3 separate regions of the Homo sapiens genome follow, and all the other regions are linked to region 2. The links are contacts of gene promoters, found by promoter capture Hi-C in blood cells and fetal thymus (Javierre and others, 2016). All regions are on one chromosome and are shown on one strand. Each heading gives the region's core, a stretch centred on a gene start or on the middle of the fragment in contact. The rest is flanking DNA. Distances are from core to core; before and after follow the strand shown. Region 1 overlaps CASK (calcium/calmodulin dependent serine protein kinase). Region 2 holds the start of CASK-AS1 (CASK antisense RNA 1). Region 3 overlaps CASK (calcium/calmodulin dependent serine protein kinase).

Evidence for each region. Contacts are between HindIII fragments. The CHiCAGO score rates a contact against its expected background, and 5 or more counts as called.
Region 1: a contact is called between a fragment that was not itself captured here and the fragment with the promoter of CASK-AS1 in region 2, in 2 of 17 cell types (M2 macrophages and M0 macrophages). The highest score is 7.0, in M2 macrophages.
Region 3: a contact is called between a fragment that was not itself captured here and the fragment with the promoter of CASK-AS1 in region 2, in 1 of 17 cell types (M2 macrophages). The highest score is 5.2, in M2 macrophages.

The regions. Positions count from the first base shown.
Region 1 is chrX:41,766,675-41,771,234 of GRCh38, reverse strand. The region is part of intron 3 of CASK (calcium/calmodulin dependent serine protein kinase); the gene reads left to right. Among named protein-coding and RNA genes, the nearest start is that of GPR82, 45 kb to the right of the region's middle. The HindIII fragment of the contact is 4,027 bases long and covers 1,070-4,560 here.
Region 2 is chrX:41,515,522-41,519,586 of GRCh38, reverse strand. CASK-AS1 (CASK antisense RNA 1) reads right to left here and starts at 1,825. Exons shown (of 2, transcript NR_046581.1): 1 at 1-1,825. CASK (calcium/calmodulin dependent serine protein kinase) reads left to right here. Exons shown (of 27, transcript NM_001367721.1): 27 at 1-4,065. RefSeq lists an enhancer at 2,269-2,770. The HindIII fragment of the contact is 5,609 bases long and covers 1-1,868 here.
Region 3 is chrX:41,739,331-41,743,507 of GRCh38, reverse strand. CASK (calcium/calmodulin dependent serine protein kinase) reads left to right here. Exons shown (of 27, transcript NM_001367721.1): 5 at 4,052-4,124. Among named protein-coding and RNA genes, the nearest start is that of GPR82, 17 kb to the right of the region's middle. The HindIII fragment of the contact is 2,659 bases long and covers 1,105-3,763 here.

The sequences.
Region 1 (4,560 bases), core at 1,834-4,333, 250 kb before region 2:
TTAGATATCATTCCACTATGTTCTGGCATCCATTGATGTGGAGAATTCAGCTAGCAGGGGCTGTAACTTCTCTGAAGGTAATGTCATTATTTCTCAGGTTATTAAAAATTATTTCATCTTTTGTTTTCTGTAGTTTGTGATGTGTCTTAAGAGTGTGCGTATGTGTGTTTGAACCTTGCCTTAGGTTCTTTGTTTTTTCAATCAGTGTATTGATATTATTCATGGTTTTAGAAAATTCTCAGCCATTATTTCTTCAAATGTTGCTTCTGCCCCTTTATCTCTTTCGTCAGCTTTGTGACCAAATTAAATATTGGTAGAGGTATACCTTGTGGTATTTTCTATGTCTTCTACCTTCTTTTCTGTATTTTGCATGTTTTTTTTTCTCCATGCTTTGGTCTTTTTGTTTCTTCTGTCCTCTCTTACTGGTCTCTTTCTCTTCAGTACTGTTTAATCTGATGTTAATCTATTCACTAATTTTTAAATGTTAATTATATTTTTCAGTTTTATGTTTCTATTTCCTTTTTAAAATCTACTGTATTATTTTTTGGCCGGGCATGGTGGCTCACACCTGTAATCCCAGCACTTTGGGAGGCTGAGGCAGGCAGATCACCTGAGGTCAGGAGTTCAAGACCAGCCTGGCCAACATGGTGAAATCTCGTCTCTACTAAAAATACAAAAAAATTAGCTGGACGTGGTGGCGAGCACCTGTAATCCCAGCTACTTGGGAGGCTGAGGGCAGGAGAATCGCTTGAACCCGGGAGGTGGAGTGAGCCAATCAGCCTGGGCAACAAGAGCAAAACTCCATCTCAAAAAATAGATAGATAGCCAGCCAGCCAGCCTGGGTAACAAGAGCAAAACTCTGTCTCAAAAAACGGATGGATGGATGGATGGATGGATGGATGGATGGATGGATGGATGGATAGGTAGGTAGGTAGGTAGATAGATAGATAGATAGATAGATAGATAGATAGATAGATGATAGATAGATAGATTGTATTATTTTTGGCTTTTATTCTCTTGCAAAAAAAAAAAACAAGCTCAGCTTTTATGTTCTAGGGCATAGTAAGCTTCATTGTTTGATAATCTGTGCTGGATAATCTCAGTATATGAAGTCCCTGTGGGTTTGCTTTTATTGTCTGTTATTTTTGCTGGTTATTGGTCGAGATCTCTTATCCCTTCATGTACCTTATTCATTTTTGTCTTGTGCTAGAAATTATGTTGAAAATTATTGGCCTAAGATGATGCTTTCTTTCTCCAAAGAGGAATTTTGTTGTTGTTGTTGTTGTTGTTGAGACAGGGTCTTACTCTGTTGCCCAGACTGAAATGCTGTGGCTCAATCACAGCTCACTGCAGCTTCTACCTCCTGGGCTCAAGTGATCTTCCTGCCTCAGCCTCCTGAGTAGCTGGGATGACAGGCACACACCACCACAGCCACTTAATTTTTTTTATTTTTAGTACAGACATAGTCTCACTGTGTTTCCCAGGCTGGTCTTGAACTCCTGGGCTCAAGGAATCATCCTGCCTCCTCAGAGTGCTGAGATTACAGGCATGAGCCACTGTGCCTGGCCCAAAGAGGATTTTTATTTGCTGCTTCTACTGCGAACCTTCAGGCACCTAGCTGTTTAAGACTTTCTTACTCAAGATTTAAGGCTTAGATTTTCAGTGCCACCTAGATGTAAAGCCGGGTTGCAAGTCTGTGAAGGGGCTGATTGCTTCCAGTTCACCCCTAGCTCTTTAGGGCATCAGCTCAGTGCTGGAGAGTAGAGTTTATCAGATTCTCTTGAATTCTCACTCATTTTCCCTTTTGAGCCCAGGAATTAGAGACCAGCCTGGGAAATATAGTGAGACCTCATCTCTAAAAAAGTTTAAAAATTAGCCAAGCATGGGGGTATGCACCTATAGTCCCAGCTACTCAGGAGACTGAGGCGGGAGGATCACTTGGGCACAGGAGATGGAGGCTACAATGAGCCAAGATCATACTACTGTACTCCAGCCTAGGCGACAGAGTGAGACTCTGTCTCAAAAAAAAAAAAAAAGAAAAAGAAAAAGAAAAGAAAAAAGTACTTTTTTTTTTTACTTATTTAGTTGTCTTCAATGGGAGACATCATCTAGTCTACCATTACAAGAAGCAGAACTCTAGCAATGTATTTAAAACTCTTTTAACGTAGTTTTCATATTACTCTCCATAAAGATTTACCAATTTATATTCACACATGGTAAATAAATGTATCTATGTTTACATTTTGATAGGTCAAAAGGATGTTTTGGTTTAATTTGCATTTATTTTGTCATTAGTGTGGTCAAATATTTTAAAAGTAAATTTACCCATTTCTTTTGCATCTAGTCACTTTCATTAGTTGTTTAGTTTTCCTTAGTTGTTTTAGTTGTAAGAATTCTTTTTTGTTTGTTTGTTTTTGTTTTTTGTTTTTAATAGAGATGGGCTCTCCCTTGCTTGCCTAGGCTGGTTCTGAACTCCTGGGCTCAAGCAGTCCTCCCACCTTGGCCTCCCAAAGTGCAGGGATTACAGGCATGAGCCACCACACCTGGCGAAGAATTCTTTATTTGCTAAAGATATTTACCTTTTTCATGTATTTGTAAATATTTTCCCCAAATCTGCCTGTTTTATTTTGCTTGTTGATTTTTTTTTAACATGCAGAACATTAAAATTCTGTCAGAAAATTACAGATAAGCAATAGGGAAGGCTAGAATGAACTCTTAGCTACTAGATTAGAGTTGAAGACAGCAGTATAATCTCATATTGAATTTATTATATGTACACACACGCACACATACACATATACATGTACAGATATATACAGAAATCATAAATTATATGTGCATACATGAGTTAGTACACATACATTCCTAGCTCTGTCCACTTAGAGAGCCTAAAGCATACCCACACCTAGATTTTTGTTTCTGAATGTCCTCCTCTAATTTAAGCAGCCAGGGATCCTCGGAAAAATGATTATAAATTCTAGGGCTGGAAAAGAGAAAATATAAGATAAACATGAAGCATCTTAGAGTGCCTGAAGGTAAGGAAGTATTCAAAAAGATGGGGGCATATCAGAGAGACATAGGAACCAACCTGAAAGCATGTCCAGTGGCCAAAACTGGAACAATTTGAGCAAAAAATAACACAGTATAGATTACAATCCAAAGTATAAAATAAATACTTATGAGTGCATAGTGATATAAAGAAATAATTAGATAAACAATTGAGAGAGAAAAAAAGAAGAATTCCAAGTGTTAGGTATAGATAATTTCCCTCCACCCTTGAGTGTAGGTTGGACTTAGTAACTCACTTTCAAAGAACAAAGTATGGAGAGGGAAATAGTAATTTTACAGTAGAGAGAACTAACAGATTATCTTCACCAAGTGATCACATTAGCATTACCAGTGATCATTCCTGCGTATATCATCCGCTCCTTGATATGATGTGATGAGAAGGGCATTTCACCTCTGATATTCTTCCCAAGAAACCCATAACCCTGACCTAGGCAAGAGGGAGACATCAGACAAACCCAAATTGAGGAACATTCTATAAAATACTTGGCCAGCATGCTTTAAAACTATCAAGGTCATGAAAAACAAGTAAAGACTAAGAAACTGTCACCAACCAGAGGAGACTAAGGAATCTTGACGACTAAATGCAACGTGGAATCCTAAATGGCAAGGGAAAAAGTATATAGTTGACAAACTGATGAAGTCCAGGTAAAGTCTGGAGTTTAGTTAATAGTAATGTACCAGAGTTACTCTTAGCTTTTACAAGTGTACTATAGTTACCTAAGATGATAACACTAGAAGAAGTTCATTTAGTGGTATACAGGAACTCTCTGTACAATCATTCCTCAGTATATATGCAGGGGATTGGTTCCTGGAACCTCACGTGTACTAAAATCCACGCATCTCAAGCTCTGCAGTCAGCCCTGTGGAACCCATATATAGGAAGTTAGCCTTCCATATAGGCAGGTTTCGCATTTAGCAAATACTGTATTTTTTATCTGCATTTGGTTGAAAACATTCTGCATATAAGTGGACCCATACAGTTCAGAACTGTGTTGTTAAAGGATCAACTGTACTATCTTTGCAACTTTTACGTCAATCTAAAATTATTCTAAAATAAAAAGTTTTCTTTACTCTAAACAAACAAAAAAGAAACCATGAGTTTACACCATTTCCAGTTTAAAGTAGCAATTACAGATTTTTATTTACAAGACAGTTATTAAATTATAAGGAATTATTATAAGTAATTTTGGTATTATAGTTATATAACAAAAAAGAGTTCTTACCTTTTGGAGATAAGTACTGAAATATTTATGCATAATGCTCTTGTTTTTGTTTTTTTGAAACAGGGTCTCACTCTGTTGCCCCAGCTGGAATGCAGTAGCCCAATCTCGGCTCACTGCAACCTCCACCTCCCAGGTTCAAGCCATCCTCCTGCCTCAGCCCCCCAGGTAGCTGGGACTACAGGTGCGCGTCACCATGCCCGGCTAATTTCTGTATTTTTTATAGAGACAGCGTTTCACCATTTTGGCCAGGCTGGTCTCAAACTCCTGA
Region 2 (4,065 bases), core at 576-3,075:
TTTATAAAAAAAAAGAAACTGATTTTTATTAATAATAATCATGTAGTGAAATGTGTTTGTAATTTTGTCTCAATTTAATTTGTTGTAAGGTGGGGTGGGGGGAATTGCTGGTTTCACCATTTCAGATCTGTGTTGTCTAAGAGTATTAACGTTTTAATTAAGCAAAGAAATGATTTTTAATCTGTATGTAATTGTTTTAAAGCACCCATTTTAAGAGAAAATACTGTGCAATGAAGAAACCAGTTTAGGCATTTGCTATAAACTGAAATATTCCAAAAGAATCATCTATAACAGCCCTGTAAATTCCTTTAAAATGATAACTAACAGGACAGTTTGACCAATTTTTTTTAAATATACTTCCTTTTATGTGTTCAATAATTAAATGCCTTTGGGTCCTTCATTTCATTATAGATTTGTTCAGGCTTCCAAGCTGATAATCTTTACAATTGTATAATTTGTTAGATGCTCATTGAACCTTTGAAGGCCCAGGAGTGAGTATCAGTTGGCAGGGTGACAAAGTAGCCTGCCAGAGCACAGCTGGACCACGTCTGACTCGCACAGAGCCATGCGCCCAAGGGCCACGGGTGTACTGGAGGCCACCTGTGGTCTCTCCTTCCTCTTGCTGTATCCCTTGGCACAGGGGAATCATCTGTCCTTGTTGCTTTAGAGACATTAACCATCTCATAACTCTTCCATGAAGTCACATTCTTCCAATACAGGAGATTCGGGCTGGGGTTCTCAGACTCTTTGCCAGAGGTCAGTAGAATGTTTTTCATTAGCATGTGAGGGTGTGAAGTGCTTATATTAACCTGTGATCCTTGAAAACATACCATCATTTTTTGCTTCTTGTAGGTTAGATGGCCTTGTCACTTTGTGCCTTGGCAGGATGTGCAGGGTGTGTTCTGAGCTGAACAGCTCCTCTTAAAGGACCAAACAGAGAAGGCATTAGTATACTTCTTTTACATTGTCAACACCATACCCGCCTCCGCCCCCCACCGCCTATTATTAAATGGTGGCGATTTTTTTTTTTCTGATGTTGTTCTTTGCCAGTGACCAGATGAGTCTGCAACTTACTAACAAGGTATTGAGTGAACTACTTCTGTATGGGCCCCACAGTGGGGTGACCAAGCCACCAAACCAGAGATAAGCTCAACAGTGGTCTCACACTAGATAGAGAGAGAAACCTTCAAAGAGTTGGGTAGGGCTGTGTTAGAACTGATTCGAATCTGATAGATGCCAAGGCCAGACAGTCGTTCCTGGTATGGTACTGACCACAATTTCGGGCTCTTAGTGTGAAGGTGCGCACTCTACCTCTTTTCTGGTGAAGCACAAAGACAACTACAACTAACACATGGGAAACAGAAACTTCCCTCCCTCTAGTGGAAACCCCCACGCCCCCACTTGCCCTTTGAGCCCACATCTCCAGAGATGCTGATGATGCCTGTCTTAAGCCATCTGCCATATTTATAAAGGTGGATTAAGCAGAGGAGGAGAAAAGCAATGCCAACTTAAATGTCTGTGGCCCCACAATTCACAAGCACTGTAGCACTCATCCTCAGTGGCTTTATACGTCCTCTGAGAAGCACACAGGCAGGCATCATTCTTGCCATCATTCCGATGGTGAAATCCCTGCATGCAGAACTCATTGACTTCTCAAAGATGTTACCTGTTCCATTCCACTAATACATGTCTTCTCTAAAGCAGTGTCTTTATGACCTAGCTGCATATACTTACATTTCTGAATTCAGAGTAATTTCAGTACATTGCTGCTGCTGCTGCTGCTGCTGCTGCTGCTGCTGCTGCTGCTGCTGCTGCTACTGCTACATTACAATTGTCCACTAAGCAATCAGAGAAAATTGCTAAAAGCTTCTTTACTGCTTCCATTCCATCAGCAGAACCTTTTTTTTTCTTTCTTTCTTTTAAAGACCAGAATGAATGTTTAGAGTACTAAATCTTATTAGTGGTCAATTGAAGTATTGGAGAGCCACATTTTGAAGGTTCTCTCCCCCACCCAACTCCATTCCCCACAGCAAGAAAGGGAGTGTTTTTATATGTTGAATTCTTTGTTAAAAAGATGAAATGTCCTGATTTTCCAGTCACAAGACAGTAATTACTTTGCACATACAGCATATCCCATTTTAATGCTAAAAAGGGAAATGTCACTCAATTTAATTCATCTGGAAGTTTCCCAGTGTCAAGATAACATTGTAGCCTTTTTAAATGCAATTAAATGTATCTCTTGTCAGGTGAGATGATTTAAAATCTTTGCTCAGAGAGGAAAACAAATGGTTGACCTACTTCTTGCTATTTGCATTCAGAAGGCATCGTCCCAGCCCATCCTATTGGTGGCAGAATATCTAAAGATGTCGCAAAGTCCCCCACTGCAGTAGAAATGCAGGAGGTGTTCCTGTTCCCCGTCCAATTCCTTCTTAGGCTGCTAGAGACAGCCAGTGGGCCAAGCCTTCCCCTGTGCTCCAGGCAGGCCTGGGCTGCAGCTACTGTTACCTTTTTACAGCCTTTGATCTGATCGCTGCAGAGTTCTTTTGTTTTTAAATCACTTGTATTTGTCTCTTCATTAAGGCTTCAAGTTTATTTCTTGAAAAAGTTTAGTCAATTGAACCACCCTCCAGGAAGATTCCCAGCGTGGAAACTGCCCCTGAAAAACAAGGCAGCCCAAAGCCAGCTCTCTTTTGTCCCCCACTGATGTCATGTCCTTTTTTTTTTTCATTTCAGGCCAGTTTCTTAACTTGGGGCAAAGAGAATGTGTTGCTAAAGCTACCAAGAAAACTGCTTGATTAACAAATTCTTAATAGAAATGCCTCCCACACTGTCTCTTTGAAAAGAGAAGGCACCTTGGAATCGGCATTCCAAAACCAAGCTCCTTGTCATCCTCATCCCTCCTCCTTCTTGCTTCCTATTATCAAACTCGTGTGTGTTTCTTGTTTTCTCAGAACTGAACACAGCCTCCTAATTCCATCCTCTTGACTAGGGCTTACAATACTGAGAGCGATTACAGGCTGTAATAAGTTAAAGGTCCCTGAGCGTGGCTTTCTTGTTCTGCGCCTCTAATTAATTCTTCTATTAAAAGATGCTTTCCTTCTCACTGCAGCTTACAGAAAGGCTACAAGCTTTAATCACAGATCATTTCATTTGCCAGAGCCTTTCCTTTTCTAACTCCTTTAGAAATAAGATTTCCCTCTCTGTTTGGAATCTCTGGATACAGGACTCTCCTCCAAGCTCATGGCTTGATTGGCTTTGCCTGTGCACACACACATCAGTTTGCCTTAAACTTGGAGCTATGGGGAGTCCCAGATTTTCCAGCTTAGTGGGTGAAGTTTAGCTGTCACCTACATCCAGGAAGTGGGGGAAAAGGGAAAAAAAGAGGATATTCACCACCATGTTCCCATCCGGTCTTTCCCCTGCCTTGCTTTGTGCAGCAGGTGGGCAGACAGAGCCCACAGAAACAGAAGTAGAAAGAGGGCCGCACCATCTCTGGGGCCAGCACTCCTAAGTCTTAGCTCTTTGTGGGAATAGAAAATCCTGAGCTCCCACCACCTCTCGTCTGACCCTCCATCAACTCCCTCGAACCTGTGCAAATGGACTGAGCAAAAGAAAATGGAAAGAGATGTTTGTCACCACACAGGAGACCTCCTTTCTGGCCCCAAGCACAACTCCATCTCTGCGTATGCTCAGAAACTCAGAATTTAGCTGCTACTTATGTGTTAGCTCCATTCTCTCTGGTGTGTGACTGAGAGAACACGCCAGTGTTCTTACTGACAGAGGCTTAGGGGTGACCCTCTCTGGACCCAGAGGAAGTACAACCTCTGTAGCGAGAATTGTCCTTGGGAACAGAAACAGGCATTCCTCCACAGTGAGTGGCTCCCCCTATTTTTTTTTTATTTGGAAGAGACCAAGAATTGGGGGAATTGATTTCCAGTCTTAGCTGTTTCCCGGAATGTCATCTGTGCAGGCAGGTAGGCGGCTGCCGGGTGCAGCAGGCAGCGTGACTGATGTGAAGGCCGCCCAATCCTCACGTGCTAAGACCCGAGTATCGTGTTTAATTGC
Region 3 (4,177 bases), core at 1,185-3,684, 220 kb before region 2:
GAAAGTTTATGTGTGTTCTTTAGGCTTCTGATCTATACGCGGTAGAACTAAAGCTAAATATTCTCTTTTCTTTTGTGCAATGTTCTCTAAAGCACATTCCAGGGTTTTTTTAAATCCCATCTTCTATTATTTTGAGTTTTTATTACAATTTTAAATTTTTATTCTTTCTTGTCCCTCAAAATTTTAAAGCATTCTTTCATACCAAAAATAGTCAATACTAGTGAAACTCAATGGAAGAAGGGGATTTTTCCCTTCTTGAACCACAATAACACGGGGATACCTGGCAGGTATGCTGACAGGATTGATGTGAAACCAGTACCACTTTTACTCTGGTCCCCAGTCATCTTTATTGCTTTTCCTTAACTTCAAGCCTATCTCTGCCACTGGGCTACATGTCAGGATAAGCAGGATGGTAGTGTGAAGAGATGATGTCATACAATGACATGACTTGTGGTCTCTCCTAATCTTGAGATTTATAGAAAAGGTAGATGTTTATACACATCAAAATGAAAGCCTATTGATTTTTAAAGCCACCTGTATAAGCTGTTAAAATGGTGAAAGGAACTTTCCAGAGTGGACCAGAAAAGAGTAGCATTGGGACCAGTAGATGACATTGCAAAGAGAGAGGTTTGGAGGCAGTTTATTAAAGGTTCTTCCTCTGAACAATAAAAAAAAGTAGGCGGGGACTCAGAAAGTATTATTATGTGTGTTTGCTATTGCAGAGGATCAATGACCATGCAACAAGGGCGCGTAGATTCTTCCATTGGTTTAATGACAGATGACTTCTAATCTTTCTTCGTCCTCTCTGATTCTGTGATTTATTGTTAGGAAATTCAGCTTGTATCAGTATTCTAGTGAGACCGACTGCAAGAAGACTCTGAGACACCAAGTAATCAAATTGATAATGTTGTTTTTCTCCAACTGGCTGAGCTTCAAGAGGAGCAGCAAAGCATGGCATAAAATAAAACTGTGTTCAGTCCTTAGTGCAACCCAATTAGTTATTACCTCCATCCTTTCAGGGGTGATGAGTTGTGGAGTGAGCTAACACACAAGATCAGATTATCAAATCAAACTCTCAGAGATCTTCTTAACTAGTACCAAGCTTTACTAAATAATCTCAAGGATACAGGCAGTCAGAAGGCTCAAGTGAAGCAGAGAAGGGAAGGGCAGCCCCCCACGTCACTTCTTACTGCCTCAGAAATGCACCTCTGGCCCAGAATAGATGAGGTTTATACTGGGGTTTGTGGGTTTCCACACACAAAGGGGAGCATTGCAAATATCTTCATTTTACACCCCAGAGATTTGGATAGCTCCATTGACATTCTCCAGGAAGCCATCTGTGCCTCAGAGATCCCGTGTTCTACTTACCATAGTAATCCTTAGCCAGAGATATCCTATTAAGGGCATTTCAGAGATAAGGTCTCTTCTGCCTAGCAAATAGCATTAGGCTTTTCACCTGCATTGACAAGAATAGCAGACTGAATCACCTCTCTTCTACCATGCTGCACCCCTGAAATGCCTCCTTCCAAAGGCAGTAAATGCATTGCTGGCCAGCTTTTTCCTTCCATGGAGTTATTATCTTGCTGATCCTTAGGAAAGATAAAGATAAACAAATATATTGCTGAGTTTCTCTGAAAGCACAGGTCTCTATGATGCTTCATGAAGTGAAGTTTTTTGATTAAAAGTTTAGTCAGCAACTTCCTAGAACATGTGGGCAGATTTTAGTTCTTGTTTTATTCTGCTTGCACACTTTGACATGCATTGCCTCGCAGGATCATGACTGGGAGGGTGGAGAAAGATAGTTCAGTTCTGTTATAACTTGGGAAGAAAAACAGTTCCACTGTCTCCACACACGCCGCAAAGATTCTGCTGTGTACATACGTTTGGGTCAAGTAATTGAGTGTTCTCATATGCAAATGAAAAAAGCCTCATTCATTGAGTTTGGTTTTGTGTTATGAGACTTTGAGATAGGAATTTTCTTTAGGTTAAAGATAATTTAGGTGGCTGTCTCAGTGCTTTGTATCCAAAATAGTTCATTCTGTGGGTACAAGCTATGTCCACTTTAACTAATTTAAATTTACCCAGTATTTCCATGTTGACATCTAGATGGACAAATAAGCTGTTCCTAAATCTTTGATTGAACTTAACAATAATAATATTGTACTAATAATGTCTTAACCTTTGTAGCATGGTTTAGAGTTTACAAAGCACTTTGACAGGTGTAGTCTCTTAGCCATTTCAAGGGGTTACAGATCTTCCAAAGCCTGATTTGAACCAGTAATGGGCCACAACACCAAGTTAACCCCTCATTTGAACAAAACTTATGGCCAGGCGTGGTGGCTCATGCCTGTAATCCCAGCACTTTGGGAGGCTGAGGCAGGCTGATCACTTGAGGTCAGGAGTTTGAGACCATCCTGGCCAACATGGTGAAACCCTGTCTCTACTCAAAATACAAAAACTAGCCAGGCGTGGTGGCGCATATCTGTAATCCCAGCTACTTGGGAGGCTGAGGCGGGAAAATCGCTTGAACCCAGGAGGCAGAGGTTGCAGTGAGCCGAGATCCCACCATTGCACTCCAGCCTGGGAGACAAGAGGGAAACTCCATCTCAAAAAATAAAAATAAAAAATAAACAAAACTTAATTACAGGCTACAATGGCCCAAGCAAAGAGTATATGAGCACAACCCCTTATATGTGCATTTGCAAAGTAAGATAAATTAAAACATCAGAGCTAATGATTACATGAGCCTAGCTCTCTGGCTTAAAGCCCCGTTGTAAGGAGCCTGTGATTAGTACAGGAACAAGGCTTGTGATTAGTACAGGAACAAGGCTTGGGTTTGTTTTTGTTTTTGTTTTTTCTCCTACCTTTCATTTTTAAAATGGAACCTTTCCAATTAATTGTAATACATGAAATAATGCATATGCTAACTAGAGAAATATTCCTGTGAGCTTGATTAAATGGTATCATGCCAAAGAGGGAACTTGATGGAAATGTCTTTTAATTGTAAAGCCAGGATAGGGATTTTTTTTTTTTTTTTAGTCCTGAGTCACATACACATGTTCAAGGTCACTTGTATCAGAAATATAAGATCTGGAAACAAAACAAAATTCTATAAATATTATACAGTGAACAGTGTTAAGTCTATTGCATTTCTGTCATGCTGGTTGGGAAGGAAAAGGGAAAAAATGAGAAAAGAAGGGGAATAGGAAGAAAAGAGACAAATATGGAGGGAATAAAATACAGAAAATGAAACAGATACTCAGAGAAAGAGTAATAGGGCAATTATAGAAGAACTTTAGAAATAGGAGAAGGAGGTTCTAAAGTGGTACTGAATCAACTGCTCTTGTCACACATGGTTGCTAGTTAACCCCATTACCATTTTTTAATTCCTGTTCTTTAAAATGCTGATTTCTTCTTTGTTCTTCACCTGTGCTCCATGAGGGCTCCTCAGCTGGCCATGTAAGGAGTCAGGCTTTCTAGGACATGTGCCTAGAATTAACTCCACTTTGTTCAAGGGAGCCCCAACTAAAACTTGATTATGTTACAAAAAGAAATTGTCCGATAAGGGTGGCTCTTCCCTCATTTGTCCTCACAGCTAAATAGAAGTAAGATGAAGAGCATCTTATTATTTGCTGGCAGATCAAAGGCTCCCACTGCTTGAGTCTGAATCCTTGGGGCAGCCCTGAGCACTGTTTACATAACGCAGTCCAGTTTAAGTAGAATTACCTGAGTATTGGGGAAAAAAATTGTCATGTTTTAAGCTTGAATTTTTAGTTTGCAAAGCAAATTTACTTATGAACTATGTGTAATTCTTTTGACTTAGATAGCTTAGAAAATATAGAGCATACTATTTCTTCATGAAGCCCATAAACTTTTGAGTCTGCCAACATTTTCATTATTAAGCCTCACTTTACACCAATCCTGTCTGCTCAAATCAAATGTGTCCATGGACAGCTAATATGAGAGTGGGAGTTATAAACTAGGAGCACTGTATATTAAGTTTTAAAATAAAAATTGTTTACAGTTTTTAGATTTCTTTTGTTTTTTACAGCCATTATATGAGACAGATACTGGAAGCTCTACGCTACTGCCATGATAATAACATAATTCACAGGGATGTGAAGGTAAGTCATTTGTTATCACTAACTTTAATGTTTGTGAAGAAATACTGATATAA